Regions from separate parts of the Homo sapiens genome. Here regions 1, 2, 3 and 4 are each linked to region 5. Evidence: promoter capture Hi-C in 16 types of primary human blood cells and fetal thymus (Javierre and others, 2016). All regions are on one chromosome and are shown on one strand. Each heading gives the region's core, a stretch centred on a gene start or on the middle of the fragment in contact. The rest is flanking DNA. Distances are from core to core; before and after follow the strand shown.

Evidence for each region. The method cuts DNA at HindIII sites, captures the fragments that hold promoters and counts their contacts. A CHiCAGO score of 5 or more calls a contact.
Region 1: the fragment with the promoter of TERF2 here is called in contact with the fragment with the promoter of NQO1-AS1 in region 5 in 6 of 17 cell types (endothelial precursors, megakaryocytes, activated CD4 T cells and 3 more); the score reaches 10.6 in endothelial precursors.
Region 2: a fragment that was not itself captured here is called in contact with the fragment with the promoter of NQO1-AS1 in region 5 in 2 of 17 cell types (activated CD4 T cells and endothelial precursors); the score reaches 8.3 in activated CD4 T cells.
Region 3: a contact is called between a fragment that was not itself captured here and the fragment with the promoter of NQO1-AS1 in region 5, in 5 of 17 cell types (activated CD4 T cells, megakaryocytes, erythroblasts and 2 more). The highest score is 7.2, in activated CD4 T cells.
Region 4: a contact is called between a fragment that was not itself captured here and the fragment with the promoter of NQO1-AS1 in region 5, in 1 of 17 cell types (monocytes). The highest score is 5.3, in monocytes.

The regions. Positions count from the first base shown.
Region 1 is chr16:69,382,218-69,387,331 of GRCh38, forward strand. It overlaps TERF2 (telomeric repeat binding factor 2), which reads right to left and starts at 3,790. Exons shown (of 10, transcript NM_005652.5): 1 at 3,376-3,790; 2 at 3,174-3,269; 3 at 2,363-2,493. The coding sequence starts at 3,754. RefSeq lists a silencer at 3,406-3,785. The HindIII fragment of the contact is 13,848 bases long and covers 66-5,114 here.
Region 2 is chr16:69,404,456-69,409,150 of GRCh38, forward strand. No RefSeq gene overlaps it. Among named protein-coding and RNA genes, the nearest start is that of CYB5B, 18 kb to the right of the region's middle. The HindIII fragment of the contact is 5,546 bases long and covers 384-4,695 here.
Region 3 is chr16:69,365,351-69,370,407 of GRCh38, forward strand. It overlaps TERF2 (telomeric repeat binding factor 2), which reads right to left. Exons shown (of 10, transcript NM_005652.5): 6 at 3,026-3,132; 7 at 1,457-1,849. Among named protein-coding and RNA genes, the nearest start is that of TMED6, 16 kb to the left of the region's middle. The HindIII fragment of the contact is 725 bases long and covers 1,932-2,656 here.
Region 4 is chr16:69,427,145-69,432,465 of GRCh38, forward strand. The region is part of intron 1 of CYB5B (cytochrome b5 type B); the gene reads left to right. Among named protein-coding and RNA genes, the nearest start is that of CYB5B, 5.2 kb to the left of the region's middle. The HindIII fragment of the contact is 5,174 bases long and covers 1-3,837 here.
Region 5 is chr16:69,707,436-69,712,800 of GRCh38, forward strand. It overlaps NQO1-AS1 (NQO1 antisense RNA 1), which reads left to right and starts at 2,439. Exons shown (of 2, transcript NR_198990.1): 1 at 2,439-2,666; 2 at 2,802-3,148. NQO1 (NAD(P)H quinone dehydrogenase 1) reads right to left here. Exons shown (of 6, transcript NM_000903.3): 6 at 1,966-3,846. The coding sequence ends at 3,541. SNORD13H (small nucleolar RNA, C/D box 13H) reads right to left here and starts at 1,240; the gene lies at 1,137-1,240. The HindIII fragment of the contact is 13,005 bases long and covers 1-5,365 here.

The DNA.
Region 1 (5,114 bases), core at 2,540-5,039, 320 kb before region 5:
CTTACTTGATAAACTTTGCGAAAGATTCAATATACTTTTAAATAAATTGTTTTGGCACTTTACAAAGCTTAAATGCATGAGCAAGGCTCACTGAACCTAGGCGTCTGTAGAATTTTCCCGATCATTAACAGATTCCGTGACTGTAAATGAGAAACTTTTACAAAGTAAATTGAAGAGATGGATGAAATAATATCATTTAACAACTAGGAGATCAAGGTAATTGTGGTTGCCAACCTCAAAGGCAGCCCCCAATGCGCCTCACCTCTTGCGGAGTCCCATTCACACTCTACCAGAGTGAGTCTAGTCTGTATGACCAAGAGCATATGGTGGAAGTGATAATGTGTCACTTCCAAGATTAGACTCTACAAGAATGAGACTTCTGCCTTGGGTTCTTGCTCTCTTGCATGATTTGCTGTAGGAAAACAAAGCTGCCATGTTGCAAGCAGCCTTATCTGTGAAGAGGCCAGGAGCTGAAGTGTCCAGCCAACAGCCAGTAGGAAAGTGAGTCTTGTTAACAACTATGTGAGTAGGGAAGCAGTTGAGTCTTGAAATGACTGCAAACCTAGCTGACAGCTTGACTGTAACCTCATGAGAAACCCTGAGCCAGAATCACTAATAGACTCCTGATCCTCGGAAACTGAAAGATAATATTAACTGTTTTGAGCTGCTTATTCTTGGAGTAACTTGTTACACTGCAGTAACAATAAGCATAAGATCTAGTACGTGGTGGAGACTGGAAAAGGAGAACAGAGTCAACGTAAGAAAATGGCTACTCTGAGAGCTTAGATTTTTCTAATAGATTTTTCCTAATGAACCACCCAAATAAGGAGCTCTATGAGCCTAAATAATAATAATAAATACGCAGCTGAAAGATGAAAGCCCACAAAGACTCTTCCAGAAGAGGGGCCAGATGGCAAATCTATAGCCCTTGTGTTCTAAAGGAGTTGCTACAGGTTGAGCATCCTAAATCTGAAAATCCGAAATCTGAAATGCTCCAATGAGCATTTCCTTTGAGTGCCATGTTGGCACTCAAAAAGTTTCAGATTTGAGGGCATTTGGGATTTCAGATTTTTGGATTTGGGATGCTCAAACTAAATTTAATGCAAATATTCCAAAATCTGAAATCCAAAATGCTTCTGTTCCCAAGTATTTTGGATAAGGGATACTCAATGTGTACTTAATAGAAGTTAAATGAATTATTCTAAACTGGTACCCATTCAAAAGATCCTTAACAGTTCTGAAAGTAGGCATGAATTTCTCCTCCCTTGATAATGTCTATTCTGGCATATGCCTCCCCTCAACCTAAACCTGATTTTCCTATACTAAAAATGTACTCTTGAAATTATTCTTCCTTGGAAATGACTAATATTTAAGCATTTCTTTACCAGACCAAAAGTAGTATCTGCCCAAGGTCCTTAATTAAATAAATAAAATATGTGCACCTCATGCACACTAGTTGTTTTTTAATAGGGTACCCAAGTACAATGTACACAGCCAAGAGACAGGTTTTCCTTGTGAAGCAAGGTTTTTCTTTCTACCCCACCCCCATCTTTGGGATCCCATCCTTTTAGGGGTGCTCTTTTCTTAACCATTTCCCTATTTTCTACCACCAGGGCAATGCTTAGCTGATGTTTTCCATCTTCACCTCTGCATCTGCTTCCACACCCCCCAGCCTTGGTTTTGGGGGAAGAAAAATCTTTTTCTAACTGGTTCCCACAGCCACTTCTATGTTTTAAATTAAAATAATTTCTACTGTTTGAAGCTACCTGAGCCACAACACAGTGACAATCCCAAATTCCTAGACACTCCATTAGCTTTTTTCTTGAATTCAAGAACACTGCCTGTGCCGGATTTCTATCATTCTTCTACCATTACTATTTTGCTAGCTGGCTCATTATCCCAGCACCTCTGATTCTAATCTATCTGTTCAAAAGGGATATTCTCTAAGCCCCTCTTTCTGCAGACAGAAAGAACTCAAAGTCAGTACCACATTTTCCAAGGCCCCAGTTTATCTCCTTGGTTTATTATAAACAAGGGTGACCAAACCCTAGGCCAGAGTTACTTAAGGCCCTTGTAGAGTGCTCCCGAATGGTGCAGTAACCTCCAAAATGTCAGAGCTTCAATGCCAAAGCCACAAGGAAGACCACCCAAATCACAAAAACTGAGCAACTGCCATTACTTCCCAAGCCTGGGTGGGAAAGGAGACACCTGAAGAAATAACGTCTGTGTGTGTGCTTTCTTGCTTGCTCAATCTCTCCCCATTGCTGTTTTCCTCTGCCCCACACAGTAAAGAGTAAGTGCTGTATCCTCAAAGACCCTTGATTTTTGGTCAAAGAAAAAAGATATAAAAATAGAGCCTTACAGCTTCCTTGACCAGTTTTCTACTGGATTCGACCACTGCTTCTGTCAGTGTAAATTCCGTTTTAATCATCTCCAGCACATTGATAGCTGATTCCAGTGGTGTGAGCTCAGCCTCCATATCAAAGGAACAGTCTAGGACAAAGCACAGTTTTCATTTTTAAGCTCTTTTCTAAGGGTAAAAAAGTTATGTCCAAAAATTATATATATATATTTATGGAAATGGAGCATGCAAATATGGTAAGATTTGCATTTAATTTTTTGACATATTTGCTACAGGTTGACATACACGATAAGGGTCCAAATTCAAATCAATGAATTTAACGTGACCATTTTTTAACACCTGTCAAGACAGGCAAAAAAATTATTTTTAAATACCTGCATTTGCCTCTCAAATTCAGAATATACCCATCCTCCTCAGATACGAGTGGCAAGAAACTGACAACAGCTAAATAGCTTTCAAGTTAAATTCAGAGGGGAAAAATGTCAGAGTACTTCCACTCTGAAAAACTCTCTACCATGGGGGAAAAAAGATGTCCATATGAACATAACTCACTTTAGACAGGAGCAAAGTTGGGGTGAGCAATTAACAGGTGGGAGAAGATTTAAAAAAAACACAGAAAAGCAGCCAAGACAACCTTAACCGGAGAAAACTAGAGCCAGTCGAGCCAGAAAACAGACCCATCGTAGAATGAAAAAGACCACTCTGATGGAAACTATCGCACTTTAACCTGGAATCCTTCAGTTCTAGATATAAGTTTTAAAACAAAACCCTACGCAAGTAAGCCCAGAGAAGAACACAAAAATAGCCATACCTAAATTTTCCCCTTCTTCAATCCGCGACAGACACTGCATAACCCGCAGCAATCGGGACACGGTGTGCTCCTTCCCCAAGGGCCTGACAAGCAAAGCTGGGAGAGAAGACATCGTTGGCTGGGCGACCCCCAGTCCCGACTCCCGGTCCCCCGGACCCCCTTCCCCGGCGCTCCAACCCCCCTCCCCCGGCCCGGCCCTCACCCTGCATGATGTCCCGGATCTGTCTGAAGTCCCCGTACCGGCTACCCCGAAAGGCCCGCAGCGCCTCGTGGAAGTAGAACTTGAGCACCCAGCGATTGACTGCCTCTTCCAGCCGTGCCTCCCCCGCGCCGCGCTCCGCCGGGCCCCCCAGCCCCGGCTCGTGGCGCCCCCGCCGGGCCCGCCCGCTACTGCGGGACGCCCGCCTGCCAGCTGCCCGCCCGCTGCCGTCGCTACTCCCGCCTCCTCCCGCCATCGTGTCCGATCGCCGCGCGCCCTCCCCGCCCTCCCGGCCGGGCCGCTTCCTCGGCTGTGACGCCGCTGGGTCACGCACGACGCCCGGGCCGGAAGCGGGGCCCGCCGTCCCGGCTCCCGCGGCCATGATAGAAACAGCGTTCCGAGCCGCCCGCGGGCTTCTGGGAGGGAAAGGACCGGAGGGCCCGGCCCCCTTCTCAGACGCCGTAGTTCCCGATGTGCCGGCCGCAATGCCTCCTGGGGCTTGAAGTCCACACCGCCCAGGCCGGTGAACCCGGCGGGTTTTGCAGTCAACTTCGCTCCGAATTTACAGAAAACAGCTACTATGCTAGGGACGCGGAACAGTGTATTAGAGACTGAAAAACAGGCCGGGATCGGTGGCTCTACGCCTGTAATCCCAGCACTTTGGGAGGCTGAGGCGGGTGGATCACCTGAGGTCGGGAGTTCGAGACCAGCCTGACCAACATGGAGAAACCCCATCTCTACTAAAAATACAAAATTAGCCAGACGTGGTGGCGCATGCCTGTAATCCTAGCTACTCAGGAGGCTGAGGCAGGAGACTCGCTTGAACCCGCGAGGCGGAGGTTGCGGTGAGCCGAGATCGCGCCATTGCACTCCAGTCTGGGCAACAAGAGCGAAACTCCGTCTCAAAAAAAAGAAAAGAAAAAAAAGAAAACCAAATATGTGCACCTTATTAAACACTTTGAAAATTGTGGAAGAGAGCATACACAGAGGAAAGTCTTTAAACAAATTTGTATTTTAACAAATACTGTAATTATAAAGCAAAGACCAGTGTGATACCAATAAATAGAATGCACCTGGCAACCCAGCCGCTAGACATATACTCTTTGTAATCACAAAAATAACACATTTTGTTGTAGAACAATTAGAAAAATAAGCAAAAGGACCACCCATAGTCCCATAGAGGGTCTGAGTCACTTTCAGATATCTCTGATACTCTTGGAATTCACCAACTGGCACTTGACCAAATGGAGAACCTCCAGCTCAGACCTTAGTTCAGGATGGTGGTTGTGGGTGCCTCTTCCTGAGAGGCCCAGTAACTGGTCTAGCTTCAAAGATTGTCCTACCAGCCCCACTAGTCTGGAACCTGCAAAGATCCAGTTTGGGGCCACTCAAAGACAACTCAGAAGTGCAGGTGGCCATGTCCTTGAGGATGTGAATCCCATGCTGGACCTGTGAATTAATATCAGGACCTTAATATGTATAGTATCCTGGAAAGCCAAAAGTTCTATGAGGTACACGTTCCGGGATGAGAGAAGAGGCCTCTAGGTCTGACTGATCTTTGGTGATCATAGCTGCTTTTCTTTTTTTTCTTTGTTTTTCTTGAGATGGAATCTCGTTCTGTCGCCCAAGCTGGAGTGCAGTGGCACGATCTCGGCTCACTGCAAGCTCCGCCTCTGGGTTCATGCCATTCTCCTGCCTCAGCCTCCCGAGTGGCTGGGACTACAGGCGCCCACTACCATGCC
Region 2 (4,695 bases), core at 1,907-4,406, 300 kb before region 5:
GCTGCTCTATTGAAGTTAAAAATAATCTGTCACATGGCTAATTTGTTGGAATGCAGCAATAAAGGGCTGTGGGCAGAGGGAGAGCTGGAAGCAGCTGGGAAGTTTGCAGGCAGAGTGCACGCCCTGGGGACTGTGTTTGTAGGGAGAGAAAACAGTGTTACAGCTGCCTTAGGGCACCTTATCAGAAAACCCACAAAATGGGCAGGAAGAAGGAAGAGTAGGTTTGAGTCCAGAGCATGACCTTTGGGCTTATCAGACAGTGAAGGGATGGGTCAGAACTTGTCACCTGTGTTCACGGGATGCTGATTCACTCAGCAAGGATGAAGTCTTTTCAGATCCCCCTGCATTTGAATCCGTTTCAAAGGAATACATAATTCAAAGGAAGCTTTTGATCCGAAATCCATGGGAAAACCAATCTATAGGGTCTTGAGCGAAAAAAGTTCAAGCCAGGAATACAAATCCTAGTTTGGGGGATTGGGGATATTATAATTTTTGAAATGTTAGAGTTGAAAGAGAGAAAACAAATTATTTAGTATAATCCCTGAATTTTCCCTTCCTTCCTTCCTTCCTTCTTTCTTTCTGTCTTCTTCTTTTTTTTTTTTTTTTTTGAGACAGAGTCTTGCTCTGTTGCCTGGGCTGGAGTGCAGTGGCTCGATCTTGGCTCACTGCAACCTCTGCCTCCCGGGTTCAAGTGATTCTCCTGCCTCAGCCTCCTGAGTAGCTGGGACTACAGGCATGCACCACTGCGCCCACCTAATTTTTGTATTTTTAGTAGAGATGGGGTTTCACCATGTTGGTTAGCCAGGATGGTCTCGATCTCTTGACCCTGTGATCTGCCTGCCTCGGCCTCCCAAGTGCTGGGATTACAGGTGTGAGCCACCACGCCCGGCCTACTCCCTGAATTTTCTACATGAGGCAACAGGCTCAAAGAGGTTGATTTGCTCAAGGTCACTCAACCAGCAAGTAACAGAGCTAGATTCAAACCCAGGTCTTTAGCTAGAAAGGAAGGGCATAGTGGTTAGCAAATATAGGGTTCAGAATGCCCTGATGTCAAATCCTGGCTCTACCAGCAGGACCCTTGGGCAAGTTTCTAACTCCTCTCAGTGTTAGTTTCATCATCTGTAAGATGGGAATAACAATAGTACCCACTAGAATTGCTACAATGTATGTAAAGTGCTAAGTATGACATCCAGCCTAGAGGAAAGGCTTAATCAAACACTAGATGTTATCATGCCACAGCTTTTTCATCACCCTGCATCAAATTTCTAGAGCTTTCCGCAGATTAACTTGTCCAAACATCCTCTTTGGTTTGGGTGGGATTCTCTTTCTCCCTTTCCCACCTCCAACTCTCACCCATTATATATAAAGAAAAAGAGGGTGGCCGAACTTTAACCTCTCTATCCTCTGGTAGACACTTTCGCTAGCATTTCCTACATTGTAACACACCCATGAGACTTGTTTTCTCTTAAGCTACATGCCCTCCGGCCTGTATTTTCAGTATGGTTTCCAAGTTGCTGACAGGCAGAAACGGTGCCAACATGAAGAAGCAAGTATTGCTGCCCCAAATGCAGCAGCAAGATGTGTTTGAATGTTTTAGAATAGATGATCATTTTTCAAATTCATAATGGGCACCGCTCACAGAGGGGGCTCTTAACATACAAGGCAGGTCTGGGCTCATAGTTAGCACTTCTGGAAAGTGGAGGCCGAGTTCTGTGTGTGCACATACCAAAGAACAGGAGCCTACCTCCAGCAGCTTGGGCAAAAGCAAAGGTGAATTTAGTGGCTCAAGTAACCAGAAGACCAGATTTCATTGATGACTAGATTCAAGTGTTCACTAATTAGACACATTTCTGCTTTGTTGGGCTCCATTCTTCAGACTGATTCTTTCTACTTGGCAGAAAAAAAAACATCTACAGAGAGTCTAACCTTTACTTTTTCTCCAGGTTAGTTTTTTTTTTTTTTTTTGAGACAAAGTTTTTGCTCTTGTTGCCCAGGCTGGAGTGCAATGGTGTGATCTCGGCTCACGGCAACCTCCACCTCCCGGGTTCAAGTGATTCTCCTGTCTCAGCCTCCTGAGTAGCTGGGATTACAGGCATGCGCCACCACGCCCAGCTAATTTTATATTTTTAGTAGAGATGGGGTTTCTCCACTTTGGTCAGGCTGGTCTCGAACTCCCGAACTCAGGTGATCCACCTGCCTCGGCCTCCCAAAGTGCTGGGATTACAGGCTTGAGCCACTGTGCCCAGCCCTGTTTTTTTTTTTGTTTTTTTTTTTTTGAGATGAAGCCTCTCTTGATTGCCCAGGCTGGAGTGCAGTGGCATGATCTCTGCTCACTGTAACCTCCGCCTCCCGGGTACAACCAATTTTCCTGCCTCAGCCTCCCGAGTTAGGGCTACAGGTGTGTGCCACCACACCCGGCTAACTTTGTATTTTTAGTAGAGATGAGGTTTCACCATGTTGGCCAGGCTGGTCTCAAACTCCTGGTCTCGTGATCTGCCCGCCTGGGACTCCCAAAGTGCTGGGATTACAGGCATGAGCCACCCTGCCCAAACTGGTCAGTATTCTTAAGGAAAGTATGTCACGCCTCCCTGAGTTGTCTTTCCCTGATTGGCTGCTTTAAATCACATGCCTATTCCTGAAACAATAGGGCTAGGAGAACAGGCTTCTCTGATTGGACAGAGTGGATCACATGCCCAACCCTTGTCACCAAGGGAAGGCGGAGCATACTGATTGGCAGCACCACTACTTCACACAGAATGGAAGAGGAACAGTTCCTAAAAGAAAAATTGGAGCTACAGAAACCAGAAGACAGGGAAAGGGATACAAAAGTCCATGACAAGACCTACGTGCATTTTCCTTGGATGGTGGTTCATAGCTTGCTTCACATCCTCAAAGTTATTGTATAATCCAAGAAATAGTAAGACTTTTGGGGCCAGGCACGGTGGCTCATGCCTGTAATCCCAGCACTTTGGGAGGCCGAGGCGGGTGGATCATTTGAGGTCAGGAGTTCGCGACCAGCCTGGCCAACATGGTGAAACCCTGGCTCTTCTAAAAATACAAAAATTAGCCGAGCATGGTGGCGGGCGCCTGTGATCCCAGCTACTCGGAAGGTTGAGGCAGGAGAATTGCTTGAACATGGGAGGCGGAGGTTACAGTAAGCTGAGACTGCACCACTGCACTGCACTCCAGCCTGGGTGACAAAGCAAGGCTGTTTTCTTAAAAAAAAAAAAAAAAAAAAAAAAAGAATTTTTGGAGAAGAAAATGCTTCCTCCTACTCCAGATATTTCCTTTGGTGTGAAGGGCCATCAACTACTATAACGCTCCAGCCTCCTCTTCAGCCCTTACTCCTGCACATAGGGAAAGGAGAGCATTAGCATATTCCCAGCCCCAGGAGAAACTGGGCATGAGTTGCCGTGTCTTCCTCTTCCTGGTATCTGAGGATCAAGAAGGGAGCACAAATTCTCTCCCTCCACATGGGAGGGTGCTCCGGTCCACCGCTGCTTGTGACTGATGGGACAGTCTGTCTTATTAGGATACAAGGACACACTCAGCCACATTCTACAGCCTATAGCCTTCATCAGAAGATAATCCATCTTCTGACTTTTTTCCCCCCTCAATTGATTTAGAGCCTGAGTAGGGAGGAAGTGTGTTATTTATTTATTTATTTATTTATTTATTTATTTATTTATATATTTTTTGAGACAGCATCTGAGTCTGTCACCCAGGCTGGAGTAAAGTGGAGCCATCTCGGCTCACTGTAACCTCCACCTCCCGGGTTCAAGCAATCCTCCTGCTTCAGCCTCCCAAGTAGCTGGGACTACAGGTGTGCGCTACCATGCCTGGCTAATTTTTGTATTTTTAGTAGAGATGGGGTTTTGCCATGTTGGCCAGGCTGAGTCTGCTATTTATTGAATCCCTTCTCAAAAGTTATCAAGAACCACCAACTTAGAGCATCAAGGACCCATAGATTCATCCTCTCACCTGTCCCCTTCCTTGCTGTATTCCCAGCCCCAGGAGAAGAAGCTGTTCTCCTTGGGAATCCATAGAGATAGTGGAGTGATAGAAGTAGCTTTGGAGGGAAATTACAAGAAAGGCAGAAAAGTTAGATTTACTTACAACAGCAGGTGAGAGGAAATGGATTATATCACATGGAGCGGGGCGGGGAACAATGGAGCAGTGATTTAATAATGGACTTCACCAGAACCACGTGCAGGGTGTGGCATCCCTGGTATTTTTCCACAGCCTCACCCTGACCGGGACCACAGTCACATCTGTCCTCCACCTCGCCCAACCCACTTGTATCCTTTTACGCCCACTTCTTGGAAAATAGATTGTTCCACTTTCACAGAGAGGAGCAGGAATTTGGTGCATACACACCAGCTTAAATAACATAGTATTTTATTATTATTAGTTTTTAATTACAAAAGTAGTATACAATCTTTGAAATAACTAAACAAAGATATAGAGAAGCATGGAAAAGTATAAAGATGAAAGCTAGTCAGCTCAAAGCCATCAACTCGAGATAGCTATTGTTAACCTTTTAGTTTATTAAGTGTTCAGCCTTTTTTCTATACATATTTTAAAATTTCTTCATATTCCTTTAAAAATTTTATAAAAGCAGTTCAAATAATATAGAAGTGCATGATGTAGAAGATAAAAATGGTTTATTCTGCTATTTATCCTACTATTATGATG
Region 3 (5,057 bases), core at 1,044-3,543, 340 kb before region 5:
ATAAATCACTTATCAGATGCCACAGCCCTTTGGGGCACCAAGTACAATGCATGCCAGACCACAGGTCCCCAAATAATACAACACAGAGCAGAGGCAGAGGTGGCCTTGGGAGATCCATAAGGTGGATCACTAGTGGTGACCAGGGAGGAGTCTGTGGAGGAGGGAGAAGTTGTTTTTGTTTTTGTTTTTTTGAGACGGAGTCACACTCTGTTGCCCAGCCTGGAGTGCAGTGGTGCAATCTTGGCTCACTGTGCAGCCTCCGCCTCCCGGGTTCCAGTAATTCTCCTGCCTCAGCTTCCCAAGTAGCTGGGACTACAGGCGCCCACCACCACGCCTGGCGAATTTTTGTATTTTTAGTAGAGACGGAGTTTCACCATGTTGGCCAGGCTGCTCTCAAACTCCTGACCTCAGGTAATCTGCCTGCCTCAGCCTCCCAAAGTGCTGGGATTACAGGTGTGAGCCAGCGCACCCAGCCTGAGGAAGGAGAATTGTAAGAGAGGCAACTTGTTGTATATGGTATACAGGCCATGGGCTTTTCTGTCAAGACTGACTTGGATTAAAAATCCAAAGCCCATCTTTGCCACTTTTAGCTGTGTGACTTCAGGTGAGCTAAGAACTTTTCTGAGCCCTTCTCCTCTGTGTAATGGGGCTAATATATCATCACCTCACAGAGTGAGGATTGTAGTGACTCAGTAAGATGATACATGAAAGTGCTCTGCCCCCAGAAAGCACTTCATCAACAACGGCTTTTCTTCCCTTTAAAGGACAAATGGGATTTGGACAAGCAATGATGAAGGGATGACGGTCCACTGTGGGGAATGAGAGGAAGCAAAAGTACAGTGGTAGAAACAAACAACATGTTCCAGAGAGCAAGCAGGCCAGTCTGCCTGGAGGGAGGATCCACCACAGGACACAAAGGGAAGCAAAACTCAAAGCCAGGATGAGAATCACAATGGGGAGCAAAATTAAAGTATTCTAGCCACTGCCCCACAGTACCTAGCAGGACATGGGAGATTAGTAAGTATTCACTGAACTTGCCAAGTCTCAAATGCTCAGAAGGGTGCAAAATTATACATATTCATCAGTCTCTTTTTAAGGGTCAAAGTATAATGTGGCCCAATGCAAACAAATTTCTTTTAACACACAAGACTAATGTTTAGAAGTCAAGACACTCAGATGTTTGCTAAAAATGAAAGCAGCGATGAGTAGGAGGCTCTGAAACCTTTCCATTCCCACTCATGCCCTAGTGCAAGGCTTGGAAGCCCACATGCGGGGCTTCAGAACCGGCAGGGATGGCTACGTCGTCACTGGCCACTCCTGCGTCAAGTTCTAGCAGTCTGAGCAAGCCTTGGTGGTGAGTAACTTAGCTGAAAGTTACTTCATTCACGGAAGTAATACCAGGCCCAACCAGGACCACCAACCAGCCCCAAAATTTCTACAAAGAAGGTCTTCATACTTGGGATTCTTCTCTCCAGGGAGGGGTTGGTTGAGAACGGTGGGCTTGGATGGTGGCGCTGAAGCGGCCTCCTGGGAGGAGTTGAGGCCTGCGCTGGGCTCAGTACTCTGGCTGTCCTCCTCCAAGACCAATCTGCTTATTGTCATGCGCTTGTTCTTGGGCTGCAGTTCCGAGCCACCCTCACCGTCAGCCGGGGCTGAACTTTCGTTTTCATCTTTTCTGGGTCTCTTGTTTTTGAGGGCTGGTGATGCTGGGAGAGCTTGAGTAGGAAGAACCAGATCCTTCTGGTCCAGTTTTGCAAAGGCTGCCTCAGAATCCTGTGCACCAGACAGAGTCTTGAAAGCTGCTTTCAGAGTCATCATTCCAATGGTGGTTGGAGGATTCCGTAGCTGCCTGCAAATCAAGCATAGGCACAAAGATGTTTTTCACCACTGATGATGCTCATCCAAACAGCCACAACTTTTTTGAAGTTTGAAGCTTCAAATTCCAGTTGAGGAGGCTTTAAATGTGATATGTAAGTTGTATTATGAATTTAAAACTCCAAGTTAGAGAACCTTTATTTTACTTCTCATTTTATTTTTAGAGATAGGGTCTGGGTCTGTCCTAGACAGTAGATAGGACAGAGAGATAGGATACAGTGGCACAAACACAGCTCACTGTATCCTAGAACTCCTGGGCTCAAGCGATCCACCCACCTCGGCCTCCCAAAGTGCTGGGATTACAGGCGTGATCCACCACACCCGGCCTACAACACACTTAAGAGCAGGATCTTGAGAATTCTCAGAGTAAAAGGCATGCCACACAGTCTTGGAACAATGAGAAACTGCCTTTTAAAAATAAAGTTCATCTATCATTTGGAACAGTTAGTATGCTTTAGGGAAAAACTGTTAGGAGAGGGGGCAAACTGGCAGCCTGCAGGCCAAATCCATCTGGCAGCCTGTCTTGTTGTCTAACCAACATGAAAAAAAATTTTTTAAGTGGATCAACTGTTAACATCCAAAAACTGGGAAATCTCATGGAAAACCCTGGACATCTCATACAAAAATCTGAGCACCTGAAGCCTGAGCATCCTTGGATACTCCCACAGAGCAACAACCACAAGAAGCTGAAAAGCACATCCCCTGGTTCCCAGCCCCATGCTCTCAGCCTAGGTCCACTTTGTTCCTTTAGGTTTCCTAACCGGCCCTCAAAGGGCATCTAAGCTTGTGACCCCTGCTTTAGGAACTGGTTTTGGGATTCGACTCACAGATCTGAGCAGTGCTTCCTGAATGTATTAAGAGATTAGGTGTCCACAAGAAAAGTACTGAGTCAATACGGGGGAGGCAAGGAGAGAGAAATGGTGAAAGAGCCTTTGAGGAATGGCCAGTCAGGAAGTTGTCAGGGACCCCAGGCATCCTGTTTCCTTATCTTCCCAGGGTGTGCAGTCTCCCCCAGTGCCTTGTATGAGTAACCTCGTAACACGTTAGTAGGTCGGAGTGCTGAGAGGAACTGATCCTGGCCTAAGGAGGAGACTGCTTCCAGCGACCACCCTAGTGTTTTACCCAAGATCACAAGAGAGCATCTTTTTACCTTGCGGGTTCTCTGGGTGGCTTTTCCACAGGCCCTGGTGCTGGCTGTTTATCTTCCTTCCCTGTACTTGAGGCAGCGGACTCAGATTTCAAAGCCTTTTTGGCCATCTGGGAAAGGAAGGATGTCATCAGGAAGAAGAGGCCACAGAATTGCATTAATTCTCTGCTTCTTTCACCAAGAATATACTCAATATGCAAACAAGTTCACTTACAAATCCAATCTAGGCATAAAACGAAGGACATAAAATGGGAGAGAACTTGTAAGACTTATAAATCAAGCTTTTTTTATTCAAACTTAAGATAACTAATACATTTTTTTTGAGAGGGAGTCTTGCTCTGTCGCCCAGGCTGCAGCACAGTGGTGCAATCTCGGCTCACTGCAATCTCCACCTCCTGGGTTCAAGCAATTCTCCCATCTCGGCCTCCCAAGTAGCTGGGATTACAGGCGCCCACCACCATGTCCAGTTAATTTTTGTATTTTAGTAGAGACGGGGTTTCACCATGTTGGCCAGGCTGGCCTCGAACTCCTGACCTCAAGTGATCTGCCCGCATCAGCCTCCCATAGTGCTGGGATTACAGGCATGAGCCACCATGCCCGGCAATAAATGTTCATACTAATATCTTCCAGTTTGTGTATAGAATTTTTATAACTGTTTCTACAAATGTTTTGCCTTATTAACAACTGTTTGAGAATCCTTATCTATATAACACAAAGAGCCCTGAGTAGGCTAATCAGGGCTCTTTGTGTTATATAGATAAGGATAGTTTCCAGTTACCTGGAATGGAAAGGAAAGGACCCTAGGCCAGGCTCAACTATCTTGACACCTGCTGCCTGAATATCCCAAACTACCTGCTTATAAATAATCTGAGATTTGCCAAACGACTGCTAAGATCATGGACACTATCCTAATATGGGCCTGGCAGATCTGTTACGAGACAGAATATTTTCCACATTCTCAAAGTCCTGGTTTCTTTTGCCCAGGCTGAAGTGCAGTGGCACAACCACAGCTCACTGGCAGCCTCAAGTGATCTTCCCACTTCAGCCTCCCAAGTAGCTGGGACTACAGGCACGCGCCACCACACCTGGCTAATTTTTGTATTTTCTGTAGAGAAGGGGTTTCACCATGTTGCCCAGGGTGGTCTTGAACTCCTAAGCTCAAGCAACCTGCCTGCCTTGGCCTCCCAAAGTGCTGGGATTACAGGTGTGAACCACTGTACTGGGCCAAAGTCCTGGTTTCAAAAACAAAACAAAACCACTCTCACTCAGTGTTCCTTCACCACAGTCTCCCATCTATGACAGCCTGGGTCTAGTTCTTCCCTATGCTGTCCTGAGCCTCACTGCTTCCATTCTTTTATCTCTTTGATCCAATTAAAGAATGTTTTCATTTGGCTTCTTTCAACTTTATACTTTCAGTGACACCTTTCTCCACACCATGCCTTCTTCCTGTTAGCAACTCCATCGTACCACATCTACCAAACCACCCTTCCTCCAAACTTAGTTCACAAGTCATCGCCTTTGGGAACCACCATCGATTGCAAGTGAATGTTCTACTTCAACCATGGCAGATTAACCATGTGTAAAGGAGATAAAAATGGCAGATGAGGGAGACCAGGTGTGTTCCATTTGCCTCTGCCAGTATCTCTGCTTTTGTATTATTTATTTATTTATTTTTTGAGACGGAGTCTTGCTCTGTTGTCCAGGCTGGAGTGCAATGGCGCAATCTTGGCTCACTGCAATCTCCATCTCCTGGGTTCAAGCGATTCTCCTGCCTCAGCCTCCAAAGTAGCTAGGATTACAGGTGCCTGCCACCACGCCCAGCTAATTTTTATATTTTTAGTAGAGATGGGGTTTCACCATGTTGCTCAGGCAGGTCTCGAACTCCTGACCTCAGGTGATCCACCCCCCTGGGCCTCCCAAAGTGCTGGGATTACAGGCGTGAGCCATTGCGCCTGGCCTGCTTTTGCATTTTTAAGGCATTTAATTAAGAAAGCTAGTGCATACAATTCAATGTCTTTTTCACACATCAACTCTT
Region 4 (5,321 bases), core at 1-2,500, 280 kb before region 5:
AGAATCGCTTAAACCTGGGAGGTGGAGGCTGCAGTGAGGTGAGATGGTGCTGCTGCACTCCAGCCTGGGTGACAGAGTGAGACTCCATCTCAAAAAAAGAAAAAAAAAATCATGTTTTTCATTTGTGGTTTTATTTCCCTCCATTTTTTTTCTTGATTGATTCAGAATAGATGGTGAGCTTGGAGGGAACACTCAGCCCTTACAGAGAGCATTAATTCAGTCTCAAGTAATAGTTGCTAACCTGTTTCTTTCTTTTTTTTTTTCCTCTGTGAAGATTCCAGAAGTAACTAACCTGTTTCAACCACATGCTGATATAGCCAGAGACATCACTAATGTGCCAAGGTTTCTCTTGGAGCTTGAGCTGCAGCTCTTTACCTGCAGTTTTGTTTTTTTTGTTTTGTTTTTTGAGACAAGGTCTTACTTTCACCCAGGCTGGAGTGCAGCTCACTGCAGCCTCAGTCTCCTGGGGTCAAGTGATCCTTCTATTTCAACCTCCCGAATAGCTGGGAAAAGGTGTGCACCACGACGCCTGGCTAATTTTTAAAATTTTTTGTAGAATTGGGGTCCCACTGGCTGGGTGTGGGCTCATACCTGTAATCCCAGCACTTTGCGAGGCGAAGGTGGGCAGATCATGAGGTAAGGAGTTCCAGACCAGCCTGACCAAAATGGTGAAACCTCGTCTCTACTAAAAATACAAAAAAATTAGCTGGGCGTGGTGGCACACACCCGTAATCCCAGCTACTCAGGAGGCTGAGGCAGGAGAATCGCTTGAACCCGGGAGGTGGAGGTTGCAGTGAGCCAAGATGGTGCCGTTGCACTCCAGCCTGGGCGACAGTCAGACTCTGTCTCAAAAAAAAAAAAAAAAAGAATTGGGGTCCCACTATTGCCCAGTGTGGTCTGGAACTCCTGGGCTCAAGGGATCCTCCTGCCTGGGCCTCCCAAAGTGCTGAGATTACAGGTGTGAGCCACTGTGCTCAGCCTAATTAGCTATTCTTATTTATTCTGTTTTCTTGTTCATTCCAAGCCTATTCATTCATTCACTTATTCAAATATTTATTAAGCCTTTACTATGTTCTAGACACTGTTCTAGGTGCTGGGGATTTAGTAGTGAATAAACAGCTATGCCCTCATGGAGATTACATGGCACAGGAGGCAGACGATAAGCAGAGTAAATAACTAAAATATATACTACATTAGGTAGTGGTAAGTGCTAAGAAGAAAAATAATACAGGGGGCTGGACACGGTGGCTTAGGCCTGTAATCCCAGCACTTTGGGAGGCCGAGGCGGATGGATCATGAGGTCGGGATTGAGACCATCCTGGCCAACATGGTGAAACCCCATCTCTACTAAAAATACAAAAATTAGCTGGGCATGGTGGCATGTGCCTGTACTCTCATCTACTTGGGAGGCTGAGGCAGGAGAATCACTTGAACCCAGAAGTTGGAGGTTGCAGCGATCCAAGATTGTGGCACTGAACTCCAGTCTGGTGATAGAGTGAGACTCCGTCACAAATGAAAAAAAAAAGAAAAATAATACAGGGAAGAGGACTGTGGAATATTTATGTGGTGTGAGGAGGAGGGTTTGAAATTTTAGCGATGGTGCCGAGATAACTTTATGAAGATGACTAAGTAAAGGCCAGGAGCAAAGTAAAGGAGCTAGCCATGAGGGTATCTGTAGGAAGAGCATAGAGCATTCCTGGCAGAGGAAACAAGTTCAAAGGCCTTGAGATGGGAGGATGTCTGGTATGTTTGAGGAACAGTCAGGGAGGCCACAGTGGTTGAATAGTTGCACATGAGATCAGAATGATCAGGGGAGGACAAATCATGTACAACTTCACAGGTTTTAGGAAGGACTTTGGCTTTTATTCTGAGATGGGAAATCATTGGAGCAGAAGAGTGACATGATGTGACTTAATGGCGTAATAGGATCGTTCTGACTACATTGTTGTGAAAGACTGAAGGAAGAGTGTGTCTGGAGTTGGTTCCTTCCGGTGGGTTTTTGGTCTCTCTGACTTGAAGAATGAAGCCATAGACCTTCGCGGTGAGTGTTATAGCTCTTAAAGGTGGCACAGACCCAAAGAGTGAGTAGCAGCAAGATTTATTGTGAAGAGTGAAAGAACAAAGTTTCCACAGTGTGGAAAGGGACCAGAGCAGGTTGATGCTGCTGGCTGGGGTGGCCAGCTTTTATTCCCTTATTTGTCCCCGCCCACATCCTGCTGATTGGTCCATTTTACAGAGTGCCGATTGGTCCATTTTTACAGAGTGCTGATTGGTGCATTTACAATCCTTTAGCTAGACACAGAGTGCTGATTGGTGCATTTTTACAGCATACTGATTGGTGCATTTACAATCCTCTAGCTAGACACAAAAGTTTGCCAAGTCCCCACTCCACCCAGGAAGTCCAGCTGGCTTTGCCTTCTTAAGAGGACAAGGGCAGAATTGAGGAGACCAGTTAGGAGGCTGTTTTAGTAATTAGGCAAGAGATAGTGGGTTGTACCAGAACAAGTGTCAGATTTTGGATGTGTTGTGATGGAAGAGCCAATAGGATTTAATGATGCGCCAGATTTGGGGAATGAAAGAAAAATGAGTCAAGGATAACACCAAAGTTTTTGGCTTATGAGTCTTCAAGAGTTGGGTTGCTATTAGATGAGAGAGGGAAGATTTACATTGGTATTCATCCTTCTCTTTCCAATCTGATGTCACTTTGGGGCCCCTCCTTTAGCAAGAGGTTCCTAATCTTAAGTGTCCTGTGTCTGTAGCTTACCATTTTTTTGATTAATGACTGGTTAGAGTATGATACTGGAGTTTGAATGTGGTAGTTTAGAATTAGTAATATAATTGAATTGTCTTTCCCTGGCAGATTAATTTTGCATTGTTTGAATCAGTGCATTCATGAGTTGTTGAAATCATGAATGAAAGTAGTACATGTCATTATCTTTCCACCATTTAGTAGTTTAGAAAAATCACATAAAAATGATTGTAATATCTTATGACATTGATAGAAAATATCAAAGTGCATCTCTCTTATCAAGGGTAAAATTTTGTGAAACTTTGTTCAGTTATATATAATGTATTTTTTTTTCTTTTTTTTGGAGACAGTCTGGCTCTGTTGTCCAGGCTTGAGTGCAGTGGTGCCATCTTGGCTCACTGCAGCCTCTGCCTCCTGGGCTCAAACAATCCTCCGCCTCAGCCTCCCAGGTAGCTGGGACTACAGGTATGTACTACCACACCCTGCTAATTTTTTTGGTATTTTTTTTGTAGAGATGGGGTTTCATCATGTTGCCCAGGCTGGCCTCAAACTCCGGGCTCAAGTGATCCTTCCGCCTTGGCCTCCCAAAATGTTGGGATTACAGGCATGAGCCACTGTGCCTGGCCTATAATATCTCATGTATATGGTGTTTATTGGATTGCAGTGTAAAATTATTTCCTTACTGGGTATTACAAGTGAAAATTTGGAAGCCATTGACTTGTGTATAAATAGTCATTTGTCAAAAGAGTAACTTGAAATAACATTGTGATATTTTAAAACTTTTTTTTTTTTTTTTTGAGACAGAGTTTCACTCTTGTCGCCCAGGCTGCAGTGCAATGGCATGGTCTCAGCTCACTGCAACCTCTGCCTCCCAGGTTCAAGTGATTCTCCTGCTTCAGCCTCCTGAGTAGCTGGGATTACAGGTGAATGCCACCATGCCCGGCTAATTTTTCTATTTTAGTAGAGATGGGGTTTTGCCATGTTGGCCAGGCTGGGCTTGAACTCCTGACCTCCGGTGATTCACCCGCCTCGGCCTCCCAAAGTGCTGGGATTACAGGTGTGAGCCACCATGCCCAGCCCTATTTTAAAGCTTTATATGTGTATTTATTTATTTATTTATTTTGAGATGGAGTCTTGTTTTGTCGCCCAGGCTGGAGTGCAGTAGCATTACCTTGGCTCACTGCAACCTCTGCCTCCTGGGTTCAAGCGATTTTCCTGCCTCAGCCTCTGGAGTAGCTGGCACTACAGGTCCCTCCCACCACACCTGGCTAGTTTTTATGAGATGGGGTTTCACCATGTTAGGTAGGCTGGTCTCGAACTCCTGACCTCAAGTGATCTGCCCACCTTGGCCTCCCAAAGTGCTGGGATTACAGGTGTGAGCCACGGCACCGGCCTATATGTGTTTTTAGAAACTGTCACCATAAATGAGAATATTACTTTAGGAACCATCTCATAAATGGGATAACATTTTATTAACCCAACAAATATTTGTTAAGTTCTATATAGTAGTAGGCCCTGGTGGTGTATAAAAATAAACATAAACATGGAACCCCAGCCTGGGCGACAGAGTGAGATTCTGTCTTAAAAACAAAACAAAGCTGGGTGCAGTGGCTCACGCCTGTAATCCCAGCACTTTGGGAAGCCAAGGTGGACAGATCACTTGAGCTCAGGAGTTTGAGACCAGCCTAGGCAACATGGCAAAACCCCATCTCTACAAAAAATACGAAAATTAGACGAGCATGGTGGCATGAGCCTGTAGTCCCAGCTCCTCAGGAGGCAGGGGTGGGAGAAGGGCTTGAGGCCAGGACATCGAGGCTGCAGTGAGCCGAGATAGCACTACTGCACTCCAGCCTGGGTGACAGCGAGACCCTGTCTCCAAACAAACAAAACGAAAATATCCCATGATACTGCCTTCTTGAAGCTACCATTCTAGAGGAGTCAAAACAAAAACAGACAGATGAAATAATTTTAAATTATGGCACTTTTATGAAGAAAACAAATGAGTTGAGAAAGAAAAATCAGGAAAGATTTAATTTAATAAGAGTGATCTGGGAAAGCCTCTGTGAGAAGATAACATTTAATTGAGCTGATGGTCATGAACCTGATTTGGAAAGAATACAGAAAAGAGCATTCCAGCAGCATTTGAAGTCAAGCAAGAGTTTGGCACATTAGTGGGACTGAAAGAAGCTGTGTCTATAGTGAATGAAGGACAAGAATGGCCAGAGAGCTAGGCGGGACCCAGGACATGCAAGGTCTGGTAGGTAGTTTGGATTTGATCCAAAAGGTAATAGAAAACCACTGACATGTTTGAAGATGAGGGATGACATTGAAGCAATTTACAGACAGTCCCTGACTTACTAGGGCTTGACTTAAAATTTTTTGACTTTACCATGGTGTGAAAGTGATATGTGAGTACTCATACAAGCATTCTGTTTTTCACTTTCAGTATGGTATTCAATAAATTACATGAAATAGTCAGCACTTTATTGTAAGATAGGCTTCATGTTAGATGATTTTGCCCAACTGTAGGCTAACGTAAATGTTCTGAACACATTTAAGTTAGGGTAGGCTA
Region 5 (5,365 bases), core at 1,189-3,688:
TCATGATTTTTTTTTTTTTTTTTTTGAGATGGTTTCACTCCGTCACCCAGGTTGGAGTGCAGTGGCACAATCACAGCTCACTGCAGCCTCTTCTGGGCTTAAGCAATCCTCCCATCTCAGTCCCTACCCCGAGTAGCTGGGACTACAGGTATACCCCCCACTACACCTGGCTAAGTTTTGCATTTTTTGTAGAGATAGAGTTTCACCATGTTGCCCAGGCTGGGTCTTGAAGTCCAGGGCTCCAGTGATCTGTCTGCCTTACCTCCCAAAGTGCTAGGTAGGATTACAGGTGTGAGCCACCATGCTGGCCCTCAGTCACCTCTTAAAAGTCCCCACCTCTCAATTCTGCCACAGTGGGGATGAAATTTCAACTTGAGTTTTGGAGGGGATAAATATACAAATATAGCATTTTGGCTTTTTCAAAGATGTCCCTTTGTCATCAGCATCAAAACTTTTCCTTTCTCTGAGTCATTTCCATTGACATAGAAATTTGTTGTAATGTCCCTGATCTCTTAAAAAAAATTGTTCTTTGATCACACAGCCTCCTCCACACTATTTCTATTCCTCTCCTTCCATTCTCAAACCCATTCAAATCAGGCTTTCATCACGCCACTCTACTGAAATGGTGCTTGTCAATGTCACCAACAAATGGGTTCCACATGACCAAGTCCAGTGGTCACTTCCCAGGCCTCGTCTTGCTTGGCTTGTCAGCAGTATTTGACACACCTGATCATTCCCTCCTTCAAACACTTTTTTTTTCCTTCAAGACAGAGTTTCACTCTTGTTGCCCAAGCTGTAGTGCAATGGTGTGATCTCAGCTCACTGCAACCTCCACCTCTTGGGTTCAAGCAATTCTCCTGCTTCAACCTCTCTAGTAGCTGGGATTACAAGCACGCACCACCATGCCCAGCTAATTTTTTGTATTTTTAGTAGAAACAGGGTTTCACCATGTTAGCCAGGCTGATCTCGAGCTCCTGACCTCAGGTGATCCACCCTCTTCAGCCTCCCAAAATGCTGGGATTACAGGTGTTAGCCACTGCGCCCGGCCATCTTCAAACACTTTCTTCGCTTGGCTTTCGGGACACCACACTCAGCTCTCCTGCATCTCTGAACACCAGTTTTGTTTTTTTTTTTCATGTCAGACGGGAAATGTACTGATGTCATAACAAGATTCAAGGGTGCCACATCTCACACATGCACGTGAACACCCAATCAACACACTTAGGAACTACAAAAGGATCTGACCACTGCTTTTCACTCTCATCTTCATCTCCTAACATTGTCGAGCCCCAGAGGTAAATCATCAAATCTCTTCTCTCAAAACTCAAAGAGATTGATCCCAGCCAATCTCATTGCTTTAAACACCATCTATATGTTGAAGATTCCCAAATGTGCATCTCCAGCCATAACTTCTGCCTTAACTCCAGGTTTCTCCTATCCAACTGCCTACTTGTCAGCCTCACCTGGCAGTCTTAATAGATGTCTCTTATTTTTTTGGAGACAGAGTCTCGCTCTTATCACCCAGGCTGGAGTGCAGTGGCACGATCTTGGCTCACTGAAACCTCCGCCTCCCGGGTTCAAGCAATTCTCCTGCCTCAGCCTCCTGAGTAGCTGGGATTACAGGCCCGCACCACCACGCCCAGCTAATTTTTTAAGTTTTTAGTAGAGACTGGGTTTCCTGACCTCAGGTGATCCACCCGCCTTTGCCTCCCAAAATGCTGGGATTACTACAGGCGTGAGCCATTGCACGCAGCCTGTTTTTCTTGATTTCTATACCACTCTCTTTCCTTTGAATTCCCTGAGAGGACTGAATAGGTTGTTCTATTACCATTTAGTAGGAAGCAGCCCTGCTGGGTGAGTTGTCAAGCCAGTCACCAAGGGGCTTCCAGCTGCAGTTTGTGATTGAATCCTCTGATCTGCCTCCCACTAGATTCCACTATCATTAGCTTCACTGATACCAATGAGTGTGGGTCTGTAGAAATGAATTTTATTTATTTAATTCAGATCTTTGAGAAATTTACACAAAATTGCAGTGAAGATGAAGGCAACAAAATATTTTCAAACTGAAACACCCAGCCGTCAGCTATTGTGGATACTGTCGAGAGCAAAAACCACCAGTGCCAGTCAGCATCTGGTAAAGGAGGTTTTCCAGCTCGGTCCAATCCCTTCATTTTCTTGGCAAGTAAGAGGCTGTCTCCCATTTTTCAGGCAACCTTTTCATCATTTCTCATCTCTTCTTTCAATGCACCACAAGAGGGCAGTGTTTTATCATATTCTCCTTGAATTATATAATACCAACAGTGGAATGAGATGACTTCCAGAAGTAGAAATTGACTATTATGCCAAAACTGTTCACCAAAGTTGATAAAACTCTAGGTTTACAATTGTACCCCAAGGTCATGGGACTGGACCCCATCCCATAGTAAGTCATCAGTTTAGCAATGATAAAGAAAATAACCTTCTGAAAATTTGTATAGATCAGAAATAAAGTATTTTTTGTGGAAGACTATTTTTAAGTATTGAAGGTACTATTTCCTTTCTTGAATTCATATTGCAGATGTACGGTGTGGATTTATTGGTTTATCTCTGCAAACCTTAAAGTAGAAGATTGCAAGGGCCAGGTGTGGTGGATCACGCCTGTAATCCCAGCACTTTGGGAGGCTGAGGTAGGCGGATCACCTGAGGTCAGGAGTTTGAGACCAGCCTGGCCAACATGGTGAAACGCCGTCTCTACTAAAAATACAAAAATTAGTCAGGCATGATGGCAGGCGCCTGTCATCCCAGCTACTAGGGAGGCTGAGGCAGGAGAATTGCTGGAACCTGGGAGGCAGAGGTTGCAGTGAGCCGAGATCACACCACTGCACTCCAGCCTGGGTAACAGAGCAAGACTGCTTCAAAAAAAAATTTTTTTTAATTAAAAAAAAAGTAGATGACTGCAGCAAAGAAGAGATTTATTAGCTCTTCCTTTCAAGGTATCTGTGTACTGTATATAAACAACAAAAGCTGACCAAGAGTGGTACTTGTGCTAGGCATATTAGTAACTGCTTTGTAATTGAAAGCAAGAAATATCATAAACAAGCATTAGATGGCTAACTACCAAACAAGTTAAGTCCCTTAGGGCAGGTAGATTCAGTCTTTTCCTTCTCTGAGCAATTCCCTTCTGCCATAAACTACAGAGAGGTGATTAATAGAACATTGGAGAGTTGAATGATACCTAGCCAAACTGTACCCTAAAACTTTAGCCCTAAAAAGAGGAATTAAATTGTGTAGATGCCTTTAAAGAACATTTTTCTAGCATCTTTCTACATCTTTCCCTAAGTGGCCTCTTGAGCCCAGTCGGATTTTGGTTATATGCCATGATAGTAATCATAAGAATCAGTTAAAAATGATCCAAAAATGCACGAATACAGTCGATTCCCTCTCATTTATTCCTTGTGGAAAAAGAAAAACACAAATCTTAAAAACTAAAGCAAGTCAGGGAAGCCTGGAAAGATACCCAGATTTGATAACATGTTAGAAGGAAATCCAGGCTAAGGAATCTCATTTTCTAGCTTTGATCTGGTTGTCAGTTGGGATGGACTTGCCCAAGTGATGGCCCACAGAAAGGCCAAATTTCTTGTTTTTCTCCTCATCCTGTACCTCTTTTTTCATTAAGAATCCTGCCTGGAAGTTTAGGTCAAAGAGGCTGCTTGGAGCAAAATACAGTGGTGTCTCATCCCAAATATTCTCCAGGCGTTTCTTCCATCCTTCCAGGATTTGAATTCGGGCGTCTGCTGGAGTGTGCCCAATGCTATATGTCAGTTGAGGTTCTAAGACTTGGAAGCCACAGAAATGCAGAATGCCACTCTGAGGATACAGAAAGCACAGAGAGGTAAGTCAACCAATTCCATGCAGTTGTACTATAAACAACAGAAGTTGGTCTGGGCTTCTCAGTAAGACACTCTGATAAGGAGGCCTCAGGCACACTAGAGAATCAGTTCAGAGCTAGCGTCTCTCTCTTACCCTCTACCTAGCCGTTACCAATTTTAGCCTTCTCAGGTGTGTTCTTCTTTAAATGCATAAACCTTGAAACTGTGCCAACCTGGATCCTTTGCCAAGAAGGCTGGAAGTTCTGTTACTTTAGGGAGTCTCAGTTTCTTGGCAGGTGACTCACCAAGACCTGCGTGGGTGCATTTCTCTGCCTCTCCATATAACTAGATGAGTCCTTTTTTTCTTTTTCTTTTTTTTTTTTTTTTTGAGGCAGAGTCTCGCTCGGTCGTCCAGGCTGGAGTGCCATGGCACGATCTCGGCTCATTGCGGCTTCCACTTCCTGGGTTCAAGCGGTTCTCCTGCCTCAGCCTCCCGAGTAGCTGGGATTACAGGCATGCGCCACCATGCCCAGATAATTTTTGTATCTTTAGTAGAGACAGGGTTTCACTGTGTTGACCAGGCTGGTCTCGAACTCCTGACCTCAAGTGATCCGCCTGCCTCAGTCTCCCAAAGTGCTGGGATTACAGGCCCAGATGAGTCTTGATAAATGATTTTCATAAGTGGCCACTCACTGGCTCTTCTCTCCAACCTCCCTCTTTATAGAAATTATCTTGAGGGTTTGGTAACACCAATAAGCCCACCCCAGGCTTCAGTTTTATCCATGTATAAACTGGCTGGACTAAATTATTTCCTTTTTCTTCGAAACAGGGTCTCGCCCTGTATCCCAGGCTGGCATGCAGTGGTGTGATCATAGCTCATTGCAGCCTCGAACTCCTGGGTCTCTCACTTTAGACTCCCAAGTAGCTGGGACCACAGGTGTATGACTACACCCAGCTAATTTTGTTTTTTTTTTTTGTAGAGATGAGGTCTTATATGTTGCCCAGGCTGGTCTCAAAGTCCTGGGCTCAAGCGATCCTTCTGCCTCAGCCTCCCAGTAAATCATTTCTTAAATTGTCTTGGGCTCTAATAGTCTATGGGACTGTATCAGCAACCTGGAGAAGGACAGGAAGGCTGGAGAGAGATGTCAGTCATCTGGTGAGACCAGGGCCCACGGCTATACAAATCAAGAGTAGTGATTCACACTAGTCCTTGGCTGGGACAGAATGCTGTTTGAACACATGCACACGCAGGTGTGTTCACACACAGGCACCTGGGAAGGCAGGCAGGTTCTTAAAGGAGGCTCCCATCATTCTGAATTATGACCATGCTTTCATCTTCACAACTCAAGATCTATTTTCAGATGCTATCTTGAGGTTTTGAACCCCACGAAGGCTCAATGAATGAATTCCCCTGAAGGTTCGTTGAAAATGAGGTACCTGGCCAGGTGCAGTGGCTCACGCCTGTAATCACAGCACTTTGGGAGGCTGAGGCAGGAGAATCATTTGAGGTCAAGTGT